Regions from separate parts of the Homo sapiens genome. Here region 2 is linked to region 1. Evidence: promoter capture Hi-C in 16 types of primary human blood cells and fetal thymus (Javierre and others, 2016). All regions are on one chromosome and are shown on one strand. The core of a region is centred on a gene start or on the middle of the fragment in contact, and the rest is flanking DNA. Distances in the headings are between cores, read along the strand shown.

Region 1 (3,680 bases), core at 1,068-3,567:
AATATTATTTTAAGAGTCTTTAAGGGAAATTTTTATCATTAAAAGATTACATTAGTTACAACACAGCATAAAACTAAATATATAAAGCAGTACAGGTCTCAAACTTTTAAATTTCAGAGTCCAAAAAATGTTATGATCTCCCCATTTTCTCTCTTCTCTCTCTTCCATCACCTCTTCCCAGTACCTCAAATAAAACCAAGCCAGCTGACACACACAAACTGGTTTAGGAAGCTAAAGGTCTGTAGCAGTCAACATGAGCCAGGAGTGGCTTGTGTGCTACCTGCTAACTCTAATCATCAGACTTTCCATCTAAAGCTCAGAGAGAATAAATTACATGGGAATCAGGCCCTAAAAGCCTTTTCAGAAGTCTTCCATTTGACAGAATAGCACATTAGGTCTACCCACCATCACCCTGAGTGGGCTTAGCTACTTGTGTCAAGGTCTCCATAAAAATACAGATTTCAAAAAAGAATTTTGCAATACACATTCGAAGTCTTGGAGGAAAGCTGCTAAGATACGACCAGTAACTACTCCATGAAACCAGTCTTAAAGCAGACTGAAATAGCCAATGATGGCTACAGAACACATATCCAACTCACTAAATTTTAAAATTTAGGATTCTGTGTGCTGAAAACGATTACATTCTTTGATATTCACTTTTAACCAAAATACCCATTTCATTTCTAAGAAGACAAAAATGAGGAAGTTAAAATATACATTTGCCTTCCTTCTTGTCATACACCTTCCCACATACCAAATTACTACTGCAAAGAGCCACTATGCTATTATTCCAAAGAGTTCCTAAGCATCTCACAAAGAGATGCCTTGGTTCCTGATGACTATTATAATCATAATTATATGATTATGATCTTCCAGATCCATAGATGGTCATCTTGGATAAAGAACCCAGTAATGAAAGTATGCTGCGGTCTGTGTTTCTACTTACCCTCGATGACATCCTGGGGGTGAGAAGTCCGGTCACTGGGTGGATCCAGTGCAACAGTTGCCAGCGAAGTGGTGGCCCCAGACATCTCACTCATAGGCTCACTCCGGCTTGTTTCAGGCACGCTTTCCCGGGAGCTAAATCTTACTCGGGAACTAGATCGAGAGCTGAGGTCCGGACTGGTGTCTGACAAACCTGGAATGTCATCGATCTTTGTCGGTGTCACCATGAACCGAACTGAAGCCATCTTGGTGGTGGTTTCTGGAGGATGCATTTTGTTCTTTTTAAGAACAAAAAAAGTGGGGGGAACCTCGCAAAATCTTCCTCTTACGCTAGCTACTTTTGACTGCAATACAAAAGATAACTTGAAAAATAACACATTTCAATAACCTTGATTCACACCACACAAAAAGCCCCAACTAAGAATACTTCTACTCAGAATTCAAGCCGACTGTCCTAGAAAGTGCATCACCAATAGGTGAATATATTTTTTAAGAGAGAAAAAAACAAAAAACAAAAAGACAAAACAATGCCAATCTTGTGTGACTTCTTTCCTTCAGAATGAAGAGCTACCTAGCTAACCCCTCTGGTCCGGGGCTGAAGGCTCAGTGCCATGGTCTCAGGGCAGCAGATGAAGCCTCCCTCCCCTCAGCCCCCAGTTTCCTGTCGAGGTAGTCCTTTATCTGGTGAGTGTCCCACGGTTCTAGTTGGGCGAAGTGCGTGCAGGCAAACCTTTATCAGGCGACTATAGCGTGGATCAGATTGCTAAAAGGTGTACACCCGGCCACCTGTTGTGTATCAGGTGAATACCCCACAGGTCTGGCTGGGGGGAGGTGTATGCAAAGCCACCCGGTGTTTTTGATGTCGACAATCCACTTGGGTCTGGTGGGAAAGGTGCACATGCATAACGGGAAAAATAACCCACACTACTGAGAGAAGGGTGAGCAGAGGAGGATGCAGGGGCAGAGCGGATTCCTGTCTCCGAGAGGTCGGTGGGGGTGGCGCGCCCGCTCTTCTCCTAGCAGAAAGGTCCTCGGGGTCTGGGAGGAGGTTAGCGGATCAAGACACCTCGGACTGCAGCTCAGAGTCGTGGCAAGTCGTAGCTAGTCCACTGAGCCACGGTCCGCTCGCTAGGTTTCTCCTGCGTGTGACAGGACGAGCCACCCCCTTTGCCGGAGGCGCGTTCTCCCCTACCCCCGCCCCGGCGCAGGTCACCCCCTCGTCGTTCTTCCTCAGGGTCCCAGTAGAGGAGGAGACGGCCACGCAGGCTGGCCTGACTGGGCAGCAGGGTGAGGGAGAAGGAGGTCGCAGGTGCAGTATCCCGGCGCCAGCTGATGCGGGTGCGCGCGCAGCTGTTGTTTACTAGCCGGTAACTGTTTCAGAGCCGCGGCGCGCGCAGGGTTCGCGCTGCCGGGGCTGGCGCCCCCTCCCCGGCCCGACGCCAGAGCAGCAGTTACGTGACCTGGCCTCCCCCAGCCCCGGGCCCGACGGGGTGCGCCCGCGCCGCCGCAGCCCTTCCCTTCCCTCCCCGCTTGTTCCTCATTCGAGGTGAACCTTGCGAAGAGAAGCCCGGGGGTGCAGTGAGAGGGCGGAACCGTCCCGCGGGCGCCCGAAAGCCCCGCCCAGCCGCCGCAGCCCGCGGTGACCGAGTGCAGCGCGCCTGCGCTCGCCGCGGGACACGGCAGGCGGGGCGGGGCCGAATACGAGTGGCCAGGGGCACGACGGGAGCTGTAGTCCAGGGCACGGCCCGACCCGCGTGAAGAGGGGAATAATCCTTTTCCTCGGTCCGGCTGTGCTGCACACTCACTCTGGAAGCATCCTAGAGGGCGGGCGCTGCTCCTCACCCTCAGAACCCGGGGAGCCATTTCTCTTTCATGAGTGTCTCTGAAAACATCATTCATGATTTCTTTAACCAGAAACACCGCTCCTATACCTGGGAATAACCCTCATTGTAATTTTTATGTAGAGGTCTACATACAAATAAACCACTTTTATGTAAAAAAAAAAAATTAAAACTATAAAGTAGGCCTGGCGCGGTGGTTCACGACTGTAATCCTAGCACTTTGGGAGGCTGAGGCGGGCGTGATCGATCACCTGAGCTCAGGAGTTCCAGACCAGCCTGGCCAGCATAGCGAAACCCCGTCTCTACCAAAAATTCAAAAATTAGCCGGGCGTGGTGGCGTGTGCCTGTAATCCCAGCTATTCCTTAGACTGAGGCAGGAGAATCGCTTGAGCTTGGGAGGCGGAGGTTGCAGTGAGCCGAGAACGCACCATTGCATTCCAGCCTGGGGGGACAAGAGCAAAACTCCGTCTCAAAGAAATAAATAAATAAAAATAAAACTATAAAGTACCTTAAACACATTTGTCCTACTTTAATTTTTTGTTGTTGTTCTTGTCCTTTTAATAAATGCTATGTCCACTTTCTAGTCAGACTGAAAGTTCCACTAAATAATACGTTTTTTTATACCTGGAGAAGACGTTGATGTATTTTCTCAAATCCATTCCATGTTTTCACCACTACATTTGTCGCTAGAATATTTTTTCTTAGTGTTTATTTAATGTATAAATGGTGGTGTTCGATAAATTCTGACTCACCAATGTTTTGTTTGAAAAGCTATTTCCTATAGCTGTGATCAAGACCTCTAAATTTAACAATCACCTGGGCCCAGAAACTGGCCCCCGGTTTTGCCTGGGGTCTTGGCTCCTCACAAGTGGTTATGTTTAAGCAGCACTCCTA
Region 2 (3,546 bases), core at 1,047-3,546, about 16 Mb after region 1:
ATATTTCTGGTACTGAGGGGCAAAAGAAAAAAGTAAAAAAAAATTCATGGTACAGGAGATGTGGTCCATTACAATGACACAATGTTATGGGAAAAAACACACTAAAACCAAGCATACTTTTTTTTTTTTTTTTGAGACAGAGTTTCGCTCCTGTTGCCCAAGCTGGAATGCAATGGCGCTATCTTGGCTTATTGCAACCTTTGCCTCTCTGGCTCAAGCGATTCTCCTGCCTCAGCCTCCCGAGTAGCTGGGATTACAAGCGCGCACCACCACGCCCAGCTAATTTTTTGTATTTTTAGTAGAAATGGGGTTTCACCGCGTTAGCCAGGCTGGTCTCAAACTCTTGACCTCAGGTGATCGGCCCGCCTCCACCTCCCCAAGTGCTGGGACTGCAGGCGTGAGCCACTGTGCCTGGCCAAACCAAGTGAACTTAACCAAGATCCAATCTATTTTCGTTTGAACAGCAAACATTAAAAGTACACCTGGTATTTTCTAACAATTACACGAAGAATGACCAGATGCTTCCTGTTGATGGAACAGTAGAGAACTATAGACTGACAGATTCAGACTACAGTTCACAGAAACAACTGGAAACAAACTTAGCTTCCTTTCAAAGCCATTAAAATACGGCCTTAAATTTTTATGCATTAATCAATTAAGTATAATTGTCTCCCAATAAGTATAATTGTCTCCCAACCTAGAAAACCCAGAATGATTCAGAGAGACAAAGAACTCTAAGGATATGTCTCTGCAAACTGTTCGTTTCACCAAAGGATTCACTGCAGAATTAATTTTCTGTAAAATCTGTACCTCCTATAATTTTCAACATGTTCTATCTTTAAAGATAACATTTACACAAGTGTTGATAGCATATGTGGAATTCACGTGTTACTTGTGTAAATCATTATAAATATGTAATAGAATTAAATGTTTTAATCACTTAAGAATATCTTCGAATGTTCCTGAGTCTCCGAGATCATAGGCAGATTATGCAGTCTTCATCTGTGATTTTGTTTAGTCACCTAAATTCCAACTTTTAAAAAAGTTAGAGCCCAGTAAAAAAAGTATGGGAATCAATCTTATTCAGTCTTGTTAAAATGTGTCTTGCATAACAGCTTGATTTGACTTGTATGGTGAAAGCACGGTAAGAATGACACATTTCTGTTTTTTGGTTTTTTTTTTAAAAAAGTATGAGTGTACAGTGGAGTGTTCCAGAGGTTACATGGTGTGCTAACCACAACAGTCTGACGTAGATCTGAGAATCTTCTATTAAACCAGGCATTAAAAAGATTTGCAAAAATGCAAGATGTCACTCTTATCATCTATGTTAACATGTAATGGATTTATTTTTTGTTTTTGGAAAAAAAAAACCAAGAGAAAAGAAAATAAAGTCATCTTTAGTTTCCTTAAATTCAAAGTCTGAGCCTGAAAATGGAAGTATCAAAGCTGATGGTTATACGTCAGTGAGAAAAAAATTTAAACCAAGCTGGGTGGGTCTTTACATGAGATAAACTATCTACAGGAAAGAATGACCACTAACTTCTGCATAATAAATGAGAGTGGATCTTTTAATTCTGAGATGGCAATGTACTTTACAAGGACCATTTACAGACTACATCAAACCTTTTTCTAGATAAAAAACGTACTTCAGTAACTTGCCTGAATTGAGAGAGCAAAACAGTCCGGAGAGAAAACTTAAAATGTTTCCACATTATCAAGCCCCCTTCAGAAGTACTGTGGTCTCGGCCCCTCCTTTGAACAGATGTCCGCTCGCCACAGTCCAATCAGGTTTAAAGCAAGAGTATTTGTACTGAAAACAAGCTTAAAGTGGGAAGACACACACAAAGCAGGCCTGTATCATTCCTTTGGTTTCAGTTTTCACGATGCACCCTTGAGGCTAGGCACGCTGATTCAACACACTTGGAGAGCTTCACCGAAACACACTAAACACACAGTGATGAACTGTGCCCTGGCAGAGATGACCTGGCAAAATTCTCAACTTCTTCCCTGAGGCAGTGCACCCGCAGTTCTCGGCGGCGAAGTCTTTGGGGCAGAAGTCCCGAGCCTTCAGAACGGCAGGCTTCTCCCCCTCAGGACTCCAGTCCCCGCGGCCAAGGCTGTCGCTGCGGGGGCCCCGCGCGGGACTGGCCAGGCTCTTCCATTAACCCTGTCTGGTCCGGCCGATCCCGCCGCGACCCGAGCGCCTCTCGGCCCCGCAGCACAGGGCGCCCAGGACCCGCCACCCTCGCCGCCCGTTCCCCTCTCCGGAGAGCCCGGCGGGGCCGTCAGGCTGCCGAGACAAAGGGTACCGCGGCGCCAGAGGCCGAGGCCCAGCCGCGCCTGCCTTCCTCTTTCTCCCGCCCACTGCCAACCTCCAGTCGCCCGCAGAACCTCCGCTGCCTCGGCGCGACCCCATCGCCACCCCGGGGCTGCCGCTCGGGACCGGCAAGCCGGGTAGCCGCGAGGCGGCCGCGGCATGCTAGGGCCGAGGAGGGGGCGGCGGCCGCCACCATGTCTGCCCGCCCCTCCCAGAAGCAGTGTGCCCAGCGGACAAAGCGCAGCGGCGGCGCGGGCGCCCAGGCCGACCCCGCCGACCCCCGCGGAATAAGCGGGGCCAGGAGCCCCGGAAACCCGGCGCCTTAATGCAATAAACAGGAAATCGCGGGGATGATCTGGGTTCCGGGGGAAGTGGAATTATTTTTTACCAGCGAAGAGATCAACTTCCACATCCGGTGGTAACAGGGCCCTACACAGACCCGCACTGACCTGGAAAAGCTTCGGGAGCGGCGACGGGAAGGCAGCAGGAGGTGGTGCGGGGACCCGAGGCGCCTCGTACCCGGCCGGGCTGACGCGGCCCCGCTACACACAAAGCGCTTCAGCTGCACAGGGCGCTATTTTCCGAAAATGCCGCGTCTGGTCGGCGCCCAAAATCCCCACCGAAAAGTCCCCCGTGCTGCGCGCGGAGGGACACATGGTGTGCGAGTGAGTCAAGCTCCCAGCATCCCTCCCGGACCCGGCCCTCTTCAGCTCATCGCCCGAGGATTTTCCGCCTCTGCCCTCGTCGGCAGATCCTGCTCCTACCCACTCCCTAGCTGTGTTCCCGCGGGGAGAGAGGGGAAAGAGGGTCTGATTTTTTAACGAAGGGAAAGAAAATATGCCATTTCTAGCGCTTCAGCCACACAAAGAAAGCGGCGGAATGATCCGCTCTCGGCGACCGCAAGTCCCGGCTCGCCCGGCGCCTGCGCGGCAGCGGGGGTGGGAGCTGCGGACGGCCATGTGCGCGGCGGAGAGGCCGGGTGGCCACCGAACCTTCCCGCCTGTTCTGCGGTGGGTAGGAGTTTGGAAACTAATGTTCCTGTGCTAACCTTCGTGTCTCTGTGACATGACTGTTGAAAGACGGAGAGTGCGGAATCTTTGGAGTTTTAAGCTTGCCAACTGTGCGGCCTAGCAGAATCCTGGGAGACGGAAGGACAGCCAAGAGGCTAGGATTTACCTTTAAGTGTCCCTAGATTCAACTAGGCAGACTGGGACGGGAGACGCTGTGAA

What was found. Contacts are between HindIII fragments. The CHiCAGO score rates a contact against its expected background, and 5 or more counts as called.
Region 2: a contact is called between a fragment that was not itself captured here and the fragment with the promoter of SLC12A6 in region 1, in 1 of 17 cell types (non-activated CD4 T cells). The highest score is 5.4, in non-activated CD4 T cells.

What each region holds. Positions count from the first base shown.
Region 1 is chr15:34,335,464-34,339,143 of GRCh38, forward strand. It overlaps SLC12A6 (solute carrier family 12 member 6), which reads right to left and starts at 2,318. Exons shown (of 26, transcript NM_001365088.1): 1 at 1,869-2,318; 2 at 947-1,289. The coding sequence starts at 1,217. RefSeq lists enhancers at 383-432, 493-562, 764-883 and a silencer at 2,173-2,732. The HindIII fragment of the contact is 4,998 bases long and covers 1-3,680 here.
Region 2 is chr15:50,352,219-50,355,764 of GRCh38, forward strand. GABPB1 (GA binding protein transcription factor subunit beta 1) reads right to left here and starts at 2,980. Exons shown (of 9, transcript NM_016654.5): 1 at 2,767-2,980. GABPB1-IT1 (GABPB1 intronic transcript) reads right to left here and starts at 2,661. Exons shown (of 1, transcript NR_026891.1): 1 at 1-2,661. It overlaps GABPB1-AS1 (GABPB1 antisense RNA 1), which reads left to right and starts at 1,956. Exons shown (of 1, transcript NR_024490.1): 1 at 1,956-3,546. RefSeq lists enhancers at 1,964-2,023, 2,762-3,385, 3,454-3,533 and silencers at 2,154-2,363, 2,374-2,623, 3,204-3,253. The HindIII fragment of the contact is 954 bases long and covers 1,820-2,773 here.